Regions from separate parts of the Homo sapiens genome. Here region 1 is linked to region 2. Evidence: promoter capture Hi-C in human tissues and cell types (Jung and others, 2019). All regions are on one chromosome and are shown on one strand. The core of a region is centred on a gene start or on the middle of the fragment in contact, and the rest is flanking DNA. Distances in the headings are between cores, read along the strand shown.

What was found. Contacts are between HindIII fragments. The study calls those that stand out against the background at their distance.
Region 1: a contact is called between the fragment with the promoter of SBK1 here and the fragment with the promoter of RABEP2 in region 2, in 1 of the 25 tissues and cell types used here (lymphoblastoid cells).

What each region holds. Positions count from the first base shown.
Region 1 is chr16:28,291,260-28,297,469 of GRCh38, reverse strand. It overlaps SBK1 (SH3 domain binding kinase 1), which reads right to left and starts at 4,945. Exons shown (of 4, transcript NM_001024401.3): 1 at 4,170-4,945. LOC124903670 (a long non-coding RNA gene) reads left to right here and starts at 5,405. Exons shown (of 2, transcript XR_007065033.1): 1 at 5,405-5,703. RefSeq lists silencers at 4,845-5,074, 5,282-5,453. The HindIII fragment of the contact is 7,957 bases long and covers 1-6,210 here.
Region 2 is chr16:28,921,691-28,928,161 of GRCh38, reverse strand. RABEP2 (rabaptin, RAB GTPase binding effector protein 2) reads left to right here and starts at 2,924. Exons shown (of 13, transcript NM_024816.3): 1 at 2,924-3,059; 2 at 3,547-3,759. The coding sequence starts at 2,999. RefSeq lists enhancers at 1,881-2,464, 3,443-3,672, 3,703-3,792 and silencers at 2,683-3,032, 3,063-3,282. The HindIII fragment of the contact is 23,237 bases long and covers 1-5,210 here.

The sequences.
Region 1 (6,210 bases), core at 3,696-6,195, 630 kb after region 2:
GTTCAGAAAAAGGGTGCACTCCCTTCTAGAGCTGTGCCCAGTGACAGGGGCCTGCTGCTGGCCCCTGGCCCAGCTACTCCACAATGCCCATCAGTTTCGTTTCTGTTCAGGAAATGTCAACTTTTGTTTCTTTTTTTTTGAGACGGACTCTCAGTCTGTCACCCAGGCTGGAGTGCAGTGGCACAATCTCGGCTCACTGCAACCTCTGTCACCTGGGTTCAACCAATTCTCCTGCCTCAGCCTCCCTAGTAGCAGGGATTACAGGAATATGCCACCGCACCTGGCTAATTTTTTGTATTTTTAGTAGAGACAGGGTTTCACCATGTTGGCCAGGCTGGTCGCAAACTCCTGACCTCAAATGATCCACCTGTCTCAGCCTCCCAAAGTGGTGGGATTACAGGTGTGAGCCACCGCACCTGACCAATATTTTTTAGTTACTCCTATAATTAGGCCCCCAGCTCTCCTGCCTGACCAAAACTTAGACCAGCTTGGACTTAGTCCTAGAAAGTTAGAAGGAAGAAACTTACAGCTACAAGAAGCTTTCATCCAGTTCTTCTGTGGACAGAGGGGTGAACGGAACCCTGGACAGTAGCCCTGCCCCAAGAGTCCTGAGCAAGACCTGCACCTAGAACCAGGTCAGGAGGGGAAGGGAAGGACTCGGGTTTGCTGTCCCTGGGACACATGGGGCAAGTGGGACAGAGAAAACAGGTTTTTGGTTGCTGGATGTCACTAGTTCAGGGGTAAGAGTGCAAGATGGGATCAAGAGTGGAAAGTGGAACCAGGCTGGAGAAGTTCAGGTTCACTTCACCACATAGCCCTTAAGACCCTGGGTGGACACTATTCTGTGCACGTTCTAACTTGACCATGGGGGTGGGAGGGAACACCCATGAGTGCAGAACACACACAGACGAAGGTTGCCCACCGAACAAAGATTTTTTGGGCTGTGTGTGGTGGCTGTAATCTCAGCATTTTGGGAGGCCAAGGCAGGTGGATCACCTGAGGTCAGGTGTTCGAGACCAGTCTGGCCAACATGGTGAAACCTCGTCTCTACCCAAAATACAAAAATTAGTTGGGTGTGGCCGGGTGTGGTGGCTTACACTTGTAATCTCAGCACTTTGGGAGGCCGAGGAGGGTGGATCACGAGGTCAGGAGTTCAAGACCAGCCTGGCCAAGATGGTGAAACCCCGTCTCTACTAAAAATACAAAAAATTAGCCAGGCATGGTGGCGGGTGCCTGTAATCCCAGCTACTCGGGAGGCTGAGGCAGAGAATTGCTTGAACCCGGGAGGTGGAGGTCGCAGCGAGCCGAGATTGTGCCACGACACTTCAGCCTGGGCAACAGAGCGAGACTCTGTCTAAAAAAAAAAAAAAAAAAAAATTAGCTGGATGTGGTGGTGGGCATCTGTAATCTCAGCTACTCAGGAGACTGAGTCAGGAGAATCACTTGAACCCAGGGGCTGGAGGTTGTAGTGAGCCGAGATCTCGCCATTACACTCCAGCCCGGGCAACAAGAGTGAAACTCTGTCTCAAAAAAAAAAAAAAAAAAAAAAGATTTTTCTGGGCCTGCAAACCCAGATGCCAGCATCGGGGGCCAGGAGGTGACCTAAGGGAGCGAACGGCTGCCTGGGGGTGGACTGGAAGGCAAGGGCCCTGTCTAAAGAAGGTGGTCATTCTCCCGCTGTGGCCTGAGGTTGCCACATCATCTGATTTTTCAAGAAGATCCAAAAATCAGCTTTTGTATGTGAAATTGCCTCCCCCCGACTTTTTTTAAGCACTCACAACAAAGACAAACATGTAAAATACATTGGACCAACAAAAATCGTCTATAGGCTGTATTTTACAGCACGTGCCCTACCATACGCTGGGCTCTGAATTAGACAATGCTGATGCAGTATGGACAAGACAAACCTGGTTCCCGTCTCCTGGAGCTGAGTCTAGATGTGGAGACAAACTCTCACTGCACATGTAGACACACGCCACTACCTCCAAGCCACCAAACCACCAACCAATCAAATTCAGCTCTCTACTACGTGCCAGCTCAGGTCAGCTCAAAAAGGGAGGTGGAGGCAGAAAACGGCTCCGGAGCCATCCTAGAGTGGGGCTTTTCAGGTCAGGGGAAGAGCACGTGACGGAGGCAGAGAATTAGAGGACACGGAGGAGATGGGCTAGGAGAGGTGGTTTAGGGCCAGGCTGCAGTCCAGAGACTATCTGGACTCAGCGACTTGATTCTGGACTCAATGGAGAGCCACTGCAGGTTAGTGAGGAGGGGAGGTCTTGCTCCTTGTCCTCCTCTGGCCTCCTCACAGTTTGCCCTGGACACAGTGACTCAAATTTCTGCTCTTCAGCCTCTGGTTCCACTGCCTTGCCTGTGGGGTGTGTGACAAAGCCCTGGGCTTCTGGGAACCCCCACTGGGGGGAAATGAACTCCTTCAGCAATGGGTAGAGCAAACCTGGATGCTTGTCCTGCCCAATTTCGATCTCCATCCGCCCTTCAAGCTGCAGAGAGGCTCACTCTCTGTCATTTTCTCTGGGAAGGGCCACGTGCTTGCCCAAGGTCACTCAGTCTTCAGGGCACCTGATTCCCCCACAGCCTGTGCTGAAGGTGGCTGCCTCAACTGTCCTGAAATTGGCAGGAGAGGCTGCCAGAGGTCTGCCCGCATCAAGTGCCCCCTACCCTCGTCTCCAGCTGGTCACATCCTCACCCTTGGGTCAGTGCCAGCAGCAGGTGGGGGTGGGGGCACTTGGTGCTGGGAAGGTGGGAGATGAGGAGTCAGCCACCCAGGCTCAGGGCTCCCAAGGCTGTAGCAGGACAGGGATCAGCTGCTTCAGGTGTAGGGTCAAGAATCTCTCAGCTGGACCTGGCCCGGTCCACTTCAACAGGCCCAATGGGACGTGCCCAGGGGTCTGATGATCAGGAGACATCAAGAAAGGAGATAGGAATGAAGTGGGGAAAAGGACCCTGACTCTAGCGCATGGTCCATCACAGACATTGGCGACAGGTTTGTTGAATGAATAAGTGAAGGAGCTACTGGCAGGGCTAGCTGTATCCTGGGTCCTGCCTTCCCGAGCCTCAGTTTGTGCACCTATCAAATGGGTCCAGCATCACTGCTTGTCTGCAGAAGGCTCAGAGAGAAGAGATGAGAGGAACTCCCAGCAGCCCAGAGTGTGTTCTTTCCATGCAGTCCAGCCCCTTCTCAGGATCTGATTCAGGATTTCAGGGTACAATGTCCCCTAGGGTCTCTCGGCTTCCTCATATGCGGTAGAGCCTGGGGTTCAGGACCTCACTGAGGGCCAGGCTGGGGTACGGCCGTGTGTACCACCTGGAAAGCCACAGTGAGACCCTGGAATTGGCCCTTGGTTGTCTGGGACACATTGAGCCAACCCTTGGTTTAACCTGGGTGTTCTCCAGGTTAGGAGGGGAAGGGAAAGACTTGGGTTGCTGTCCCTGGGACAAATGGGAACAGAACGGTGCCCTGACCTGAAATAGCTTCTTCATCTAGGCTACCTCTCCTCCCCAGAAACTAGCGCCTCACTTTGGGGGGTACTTACTCCCTCCCTGTCCCACAGGGAGTACAAAGTATGGTTTAGGTAAAGACCGCCAGTGTGGCCTGGGTCGGGCAGCAGAGTCACAGGGAAGATGCGATTCCCATTCATCCGCTCAAACACACCCCTTCCCCGCACTCTCACAGACAAAGACACACACCCGAAGCCCCAGCCATCACCCAGGGCCACATAAGGCAGCCCCCCTCACCTGTGGGCACCCCCAAATTTTCCCCTCTCGGGGGGACTTCACTAGAAGCTCAGCTTGGCCGTGGGGGAGGGGTATTCACACTCCAAGGACCTGGGGGCCAACCTCCAGGCTCGCAGCTTTTGGGGGGGGACTCTCCGCCCTCTTCCCCCCTCTCCATGGCACAACGGGCTCCACCACCACTCCTCCGTGGGGCCGGGGAGCTGCGCCCGAGCCTCAAGGCTAGGGAGTGGGGTGGGGGAAGGGAGAGGAGGAGGGGGCGGCTCCTCCAAGCGAGACACAAAGAGACGTCCTTCAGCCTCGGCTCCATGGCGACGCTGGGGAAGGGGGAGCGCGCAACCCGATACTTCCTTCCCCACCTGCAGGGCTATGGGGACCTCGGTGGCCACTCACCTGCCGCCCCTCACCTGGGCCCGGCTTACCTGGGCTGGGGCCGCGGGGACGCCGCGGCAGGGGGCCTGGGCGCCGTCGCGGTCTTCGTCTGCCCGGCCCCGGGGGCTCAGGGCGCCACGACCATGGACCGGGGTGCAAGCGGTGCCGCCAGGGGCTCAGTCGCCCAAGTCCTGGAGCTTTAGGGGGGGGATCCCCGAGGCTTCTTGCTGGTGAGAGTGTCTCTTGCTGTCCCCGGCTGCCTAGATTTGGGATTTCTATGTACCGGAGTTGGGGGGAATTGGGATCCCCTGATCTAGGGGCGTTCTGAGCTGGGTCTTCTTGTCTTGAGGTGTGGAGTTGTAATGACCGGATCTTGGGAGGGGGTTCTCGCAATCCCGGCCTGGGGGCACTGCGTTCTAGGTCTTGGGGCGGGGGCCCAGACTGAGGAGGGGGAGTCCTTGCGGTGCCGTAGGGGGCTTGCTGTCTTCTAAATACCGAGGAAGTCTCCGCTTTCCCCGCAGGGGAGTCGCTCGGTGTCGGATCCGGGAGGGCCCCCCCTCTTCCCCGAGGCTCGCCGGATCCTGGATGTGGAAGGGGGCTCCCCGCACTCCTCGGCTGCGGGGGCTTTAGTGGGTCCCGGCCACCGGCGGGCGCTGGAAGCCCCTCAGCCGCTGGGGGGCTCGGTCGCCGCCGCTACGAGCAGCCCGGCCCTGCGCTCCCGGCCCCCGGCCTGGCCCGGGCTCCGGCTGCGGCTCCAGCTCGCGCTCCGCCTGGCGCTCGGGCCCCGGCCCCGGCGCCCGCCCGGGCTGCGCTCCATCGCGGCATCGCGGCTCCGCCCTCCAGCCAGCGCGCACCTGCCCGCCCGGCCCGCGGCTCCGCCCTCCGGCTCGCGCGCCGCCGCCCGCCCCTTTGTCCGTCCCGCTCGGCGCGCGCCCTCGCGCAAGCGCGCTCACCCGCCGCGCGCCCGCCCTCCCGCCGCGCGCCGCGGAGCGCAGATTCTCCCCGCGCGGCGCCCCCACCCCCTTCCGGCCGCGCTGGGTCCTAGCGCCGGTGGCTCCCGAGCTGGCTCCCACCCCCCACCCCCCACCCACCCCACTCCTTTTCTAGGTCAGAGCCCACGAGGGGGCGAGAACGAGGTTACAGAGGACTCGGGGGAGTCTGAGAGGGTCACCTGGTCCAGCTTTCTGGGCCCTGCGGGACGAGACTGCCCCAGACTGTCCCGGTCTGTGCTAGTGGGGCGGAGCCTGTGTGTGTTTGAAGGAGGGAAAACAAATCCAGGTTCTGCATTCGGATATGCATTTCATTCATCCATGCGTCCGCCTGCCTGCCTGCGCTTCCATCCATCCATCCATCCGTCCGTCCATCCATCCATCCATCCATCCATGCATCCTATTTCCAGCGAGACGTCAGAGAACTCACAGTCTTCTTGGGGAAGAGGTCATAAACTTGGGCCTGGGTGGTTGCCCTATCCAACTGAGGTCGCCTTTGCGATCCCTGCTGCAAATAGGCAGTGACTAGTCCAGGAGTGCAGCTGGGAGGAACTGCTCGCCGGATAGAAGGGAAGAAAGGAGATTCTAGGCAGAGGTACAGCAGGTGTAAGGGATGTTGCATTGTCTGTTTGATAACCGGAAATTGGTGGCCTGGATGAAGTGGGTGGATGGGGACAGAGATGAGATAGGGACAGCTCGTCCTTCCAGGCCCTGTTCTTTCTCCTCCCTGCAGCTCACTCTTTCCCTAGTGAGAAAGCCCCAATAGGACGCCTTCCCTATTTCTTTCTTTTTTTTTTGTTTTTTTAGCTTCAAGCTTCAAAAGCATTTCTTTTTCATTCTTTTTTTTAATTATTATTATACTTTAAGTTTTAGGGTACATATGCACAACATGCAGGTTTGTTACGTATGTATACGTGTGCCATGTTGGTGTGCTGCACCCATTAACTCGTCATTTAGCATTAGGTATATCTCCTAATGCTATCCCTCCCCCTTCCCCCCACCCCACAACAGTCCCTGGTGTGTGATGTTCCCCTTCCTGTGTCCATGTGTTCTCTTTGTTCAATTCCCACCTATGAGTGAGAACATGCGGTGTTTGGTTTTT
Region 2 (6,471 bases), core at 1,675-4,174:
ATCAATTTTCCCCTCTGAATCCTTCCTTCACAATCAGAAGCAATTCAACAGCCTCTCTCCTGGGCTCCCTGTCCCCTATATCTTTTGGTTCCCATCTACACTCCGCATGTCAAGAGAACTTCTTTGATGTTAGTCATGTGCTTCCCCTGTTCAATGGCCTTCAGTGGCTCCCAGGGCCTGCAGGATAAACTCAAACCTGAGAGCTGTCAGGAAGGCCCTCCCCAAACTGACTGGAGGCTGATTTCTAGTCATTATTTCAGCCCCTTCCCCAGAAACCCTGCTGCATGCACAGGGAGTCTGGATTTAATTTTTTTTTTTTTTTTTTAGACAGGGTCTTTCTCTCCCTCAGGCTGGAGTGCAGTGGCACAATCATGCTCACTGCAGCCTCAGCCTCCAGGGCTCAAGTAGATCTTCCCGCCTCAGCCTCTTGAGTAGCTTGGACTACAGATGCACATCACCATGCCCAGCTAATTTTTTTTTTTTTTTGAGACAGAGTCTTGCTCTGCTGCCCAGGCTGGAGTGTAATGGCATGATCTCAGCTCACTGCAACCTCTGCCTCCCGGGTTCAAGCAATTCTCCTGCCTCAGCCTCCCAAGTAGCTGGGACTATAGGCGCATGCCACCATGCCCGGCTAATTTTTTGTATTTTTAGTAGAGACAGGGTTTCACCATGTTAGCCAGGATGGTCTTGATCTCCTAACCTCGTGATCCGCCCTCCTCAGCCTCCCAAAGTGCTGGGATTACAGGCGTGAGCCACCGTGTCCGGCCATGCCCAGCTAATTTTTTAATTTTTTGTAGAGATGAGGTCTCACTATGTTGTTCAGGCTGGTCTCGAACCCCTGGGCTCAAGTGATCCTCCTGCCATTGGCCTCCTAAAGTGCTAGCATTATAGGCATAAGCCACCACACTCAGCCAGAGGTGGTTATTTTAGTTAGGGTGATCAGGGAAGGCCTCACTGAGGAGGTAACATTTGAGCCGAGACCTCAGCTCCAAGCTTGGTGGAAAACACTTGGTTTTATACTTGATGAAAAAGTAAGTGCGTGTTTAGTTTTGTTCAAAACTGCCATACTCTTTTTGCAGAGTGGCTATACCATTTCACATTCCCATCAACAAAATATGAGAAACCTAGTTTCTCCACATACTCACCAGCATTTGGTGTTAGCATTCTTATTTTAGCCATTCCAAGAAGTGCGTAGTGATGAAAGCAATTGTGGTTTTAATTTGTATTTCCCGAATAAATAGCTAATGATGTTTAACATCTTTTCATGCACATATTGCCACCTGTGACAGCAGTGAAATATCCGTTCATATCCTTTGTCCATTTTCTTTATTTCAAGTTCTGGGGTACATGTGCACGATGTGCAGGTTTGTTACACAGGGAAACATCTGCCATGGTAGTTTACCGCACCCATTAACCCATCACCTAGGTATCAAGCCCAGGATGCATTAGCTACTCTTGCTGATGCTCTCCCTCCCCCCTCCCAACACCCACCCCACAGGCCCCCATGTGTGTTGGTCCCCTCCCTGTGTCCATGTGTTCTCATTGTTCAGCTCCCACTTATAAGTGAGAACATGCATGTTTAGCTTTCTGTTGCTGCATTAATTTGCTGAGGATAATAGCTTCTAGCTTCATCCATGTCCCTGCAAAGGACATGATCTCGTTCCTTTTTATGGCTGTATAGTATTCCATGGTGTATATGTACCACATTTTCTTTATCCAGTCTATCATTGATGGGCATTTGGGTTGAGTCCATGTCTTTGCTATTTTGAATAGTGCTTCAATGAACATACTCGTGCATGTATCTTTGTAATAGAATGATTTATATTCCTTTAGGTATATACCCAGTAATGGGATTTCTGGGTCAAATGGTATTTCTGGTTCTAGGTCTTTGAGGAATCACCACACTGTCTTCCACAATGGTTGAACTAATTTACATTCCCACCAACAGTGTAAAAGCGTTCTACCTTTGGCCATTTTCAAACTGCATTATCTGTTTTACAAAAATCGCTCCAGCTGCTTTACGGAGAATTAATTAATTAAAGGGTGGAGTCGACACTGCGGAAGTTCAGGAGAAGTGATGGGAGCTGGGACGGAGTGTTAGCGCTGGAGATGGAGAAAAAGGGGCACATTCTGGAATAGTCAGCACATTGGAAGTAGAGTTTACGGGACTTGCAGGAGGACACGTAGAATCAAGGACTTCCAGGTTCCTGGCGTGTCCTTTACAGAGGGAAAAAAGGTTTGAGGGAAGGGGAACCAAGGCTCTGGACATAAATCTGAATTGCCTGTCACCGTCCGGGTGGAGGTCACAGATAAAGAGCCTGATCTAGACACAGGCGGAGAGGAGAGGAGGGATTTGAGGGCGTTGGGAGGAGGAAAGGGGGGCCAGCAGGAAGCGGTGACTGGCTGAGTAACAAAATGGGGGTGGGGACGTGCAAGTTTCAGACTCCGACTAACTACGCGGGGACTCCGAGGCGCTCAGAAAAATGAAGCCGACCCGGCCCTGCCCCGAGGGACGCTCCAAGAGGGCGGAGGTGCAGGGAGGGCCCCGCCACAATTCGCGGTAACGCAAGCCAGGCTCGGGCGGAAGGGCGGCCGGAGCCGATCAAAGGCTGGCTCCGGGCAGGGGCAGCGAGGGAGCGAGGGGGAGCTCTCCGCAGGCCGGTGTCCCGGAGGAGGCATAATTGGAGCAGGGCTTCCAAGGTCACGGAGAGACGCCGGGCAAGACCTCTTAAGGATCCTCTTCCGGGCTTGAAAGGCAGGCGTCCTCCCGAACCGCGCGACCCAGCCAAGAAGAGCCGGGGCGGGGCCGGGGCCGGGGCCGGGGGCCGACTCGGGAATCTTCGGCCGAGGCTCGGCAATCCCCCCATCCTCCGTCCGGGGCCTCCAGCCCGGGGCCGATCCGGAAACAGCCGAGCGGATCCGGAAACAGCCGAGAGGACCCGGAAGCGGTGCGCTCCGTCACCAGGGAGTGCGGGAATCCGCCGTTTGCGCTGAGGCAATGGCGGCAGCTGCGCCGGTGGCCGCGGACGACGATGAGCGGCGGCGGCGGCCGGGGGCTGGTACGTGAGGGGGCGTCCGTGCAAGCGGGGAACGGTGATGCTGGGGGCGGGGCCGAGCCAGCCACCTGCGGATGGGGGGTGGAGAGGGATGATGGAGGAAGGGGCGGGGCCACGCCGTCGGGAAAGGGGGCGGGGCCTACAGCCACAGGCAAAAGGGGGCGTGGCCCGGCCATTGAAGGGGTAGGGCCAGTGACAGGTGCGAAGTGGGGCCCGGTGAGGAAGGGGCGCGGCCACTAGGAGGGCGGGGCCAGGTGGGACCGAAGAGAGGACTGAGTGAAACTGGCCACCGCGAAGAGATGGAGTGTAGGCAGCACCCGGCAGAGCGAGTGGGAAGGGGGCGGGGCAGGGGCGGGGCCAGGTGAGCCGGGCGGGCCCAGGTGAAGGAGGCCCCAGATGAAGGCAACAGTACTAGGTTGCAGGACTTGCTAAGCCGGTAGGTGGCCTGGGGTAAGAGATGGGAAGAGAGGCTGATCCCTGTCCCCCACAGCACTGGAGGACTCCCGGTCCCAGGAAGGGGCAAATGGTGAGGCCGAGTCAGGTGAGCTCAGCCGGCTTCGGGCTGAGCTGGCAGGCGCCCTGGCAGAAATGGAAACCATGAAGGCTGTGGCAGAGGTGAGCGAGAGCACGAAGGCCGAGGCTGTGGCTGCGGTGCAGCGGCAGTGCCAAGAGGAGGTGGCCTCGCTGCAGGCCATCCTGAAAGGTGAGACGCGGGACTCACCTAGACTCCCCATCAACCCCATACTGGGGAGTGCATGACGAGAAAGGGATTGGGGGCACAGATAAGCTATGGGATAGGTTAGCAGGGCTGCCTGGCACAGGGCATGCCTATGGCCCAGAGGAAGGGCCGCCCTTTTAAAATTTGCATAGAGGCCCTCCATGTGATAGCAGCAGCTCTGTCAGTTATAGCTAAGTTTAGCTCCCAGCTTCTATCTGTTGCCTTGTCCCATGTCATTTCTTGTCCCTCACTGATGATTGATCAACCCTGAAGATGGGCGAGAAACTTCTCAGTTCCCCAAACCAACCTCATTTTAGTCTGGACTTCTGGGAAATAGAATCAGCCCTGGCCCAGTCTCTGTGAGTCTAATGCTCTGCTCTCTAGCCTTCCCCAGACACTCCCCCCTCCACCCCACGCCATGCACCAGCTTCCCCACCTCCGCCCCACGTTCTTTGTACTTGGTCCTCTGGCCCCAGACGCCCCAGCTGCTGATCCTGTTTTCTACTCTCCTTCCTCTAGCAGAAGCCAGAGACTCTGAAACAGATGTCAGAGCTGCCCCCGCTGCTATGCCCCTGCTGCGGTGGGGCTCTCGTCAACTCTCTCCTGGACTTTTGTCCCAACCTTCTCACAGATCTTCCTCTATAGTGTGGCCTTGACATTGGCTTCCAGAGTAAACTTCCTAAAATTCCCTTCCCAACATGCGATTTCCCTTTCTAACAGCTGCTGGTGGCTGGAGACTTCTCTGGGGCTGTATTTCCCACATTTCAGGATCCACCTGCCTGTGCAATGTAGACACATCCTTGTACAACTTACTGTGCTGTTTACTTAATATTTGTTCTTTAAATAGATCCACATTTTAAAAGTTTACATACATTTATTAAGGGAAACTTGTTATATCTACTATATAAGAAAAGCCAGGTGTGTCCTAAATAATAACAATAGCTAGCTTTTTTTTTTTTTCTTGAGTCAATAAGAGTTTCACTCTGTCGCCCAAGCTGGAGTGCGTCACAGCACGCTGGTGTGATCTCAGCTCACTGCAACCTCCACCTCCTGGGCTCAAGCAGATCCTCCTACCTCAGCCTCCCAAGTAGCCAAGACTACAGGTGCATGCCACCATGCCTGGCTAATTTTTAGTATTTTTTTGTAGAAACAGGGTCTCTCTATGTTACCCAGACAGGTCTTGAACTCCTGAGCTCAAACGATCTGCCTGCCTTGGCCTCCCAAAGTGCTGGGATTACAGGTGTGAGCCACCGCGCCTGGCCAGGTAGCATGTTTTGAGCACTCACTATGTGCCAGGCACTGAGCTAAATGCTTTATGAGTAACTAATCTTCATAACAAACTCTGTGAGGCAGGAACTATTACCCATCTCCATTTTACAGAGGAAGCTCTGAGGCCCGGAGAGGTTAAATAACTTGCCCAAGGTCATATAGCTGGAAAACAGCCAAAGGTTGGAAACCAAGCAGCCTAACAGCTGAACCTATTTTTTTTTTTTTCTGAGACAGTGTCTCACTGTTACCCAGACTGGAGTTCAGTGGTGCAGTCTCAGCTCACTGCAACCTCCACCTCCCGGGTTCAAGCGATTCTCCTTCCTCAGCCTCCCAAGTAGCTGGGACTACAGGCGTGTGCCACCACACGTGGCTAATTTTTTTTTTCTTTTCTTTTGAGATGGAGTCTTACTCTGTCGCCCAGGCTGGAGTACAGTGGTGTGATCTTGGCTTACTGCAAGCTCCACCTCCCGGGTTCATGCTATTCTCCTGCCTCAGCCTCCCAACCAGCTGGGACTACAGGTGCTCGCCACCACGCCTGACTAATTTTTTTTTTTAATTTTTAGTAGAGACGGGGTTTCACTGTGTTAGCCAGGATGGTCTCGATCTCCTGACCTCGTGATCTGCCTGCCTCGACCTCCCAGAGTGCTGGGATTAGAGGGGTGACCCACCACGCCCGGCCCCATTTTTTGTATTTTTAGTAGAGATGGGGTTTCACCGTGTTAGCCAGGATAGTCTCGATCTCCTGACCTTGTGATCCGCCCACCTCGGCCTCCCAAAGTGCTGGAATTAGAGGCGTGAGCCAGCACGCCCGGCCCAGCTGAACCTTTACTTCTACTGTTAGTGCACAATAATAGGTCAATATCTATACAAACAAAAAATGACCACGTTCTACCAAAAATCAAACAAGTCCATGTTACTCAGGTGGGAGGATCAGTTGAGGTCAGGAGTTTGAGACCAGCCTGGGCACCAAAGTGAGACCCTTAGCTGGGTATGGTGGCAAGTGCCTGTGGTCCCTGCTACTTGGGAGGGTGAGGTGGGAGGTTCACTTGAGCCCAAGAGTTTAAGGCTGCAGTGAACTATGATTGCACCACTGCACTCCAGCCTGGGTGACAGAGGGAGACCCTGACTCTCTTTTTTTTGTTTTTTTGTTTTTTGAGACGGAGTCCCGCTCAGTCACCCAGGCTGAAGTGCGGTGGCACAATCTCGGTTCACTGCAACCTCCGCCTCCTGGGTTCAAACAATTCTCCTGCCTCAGCCTCCCAAGTAGCTGGGATTACAGGCGCCCACCACCATGCCTGGTTAAATTTTGTGTTTTCAGTAGAGACAAGGTTTCACTATGTTGGCCAGGCTGGTCTCGAACTCCTGACCTAGATGATCTGCCCACCTCGGCCTCCCAAAGTGCTGGGATTACAGGTATGAGCCACAGCG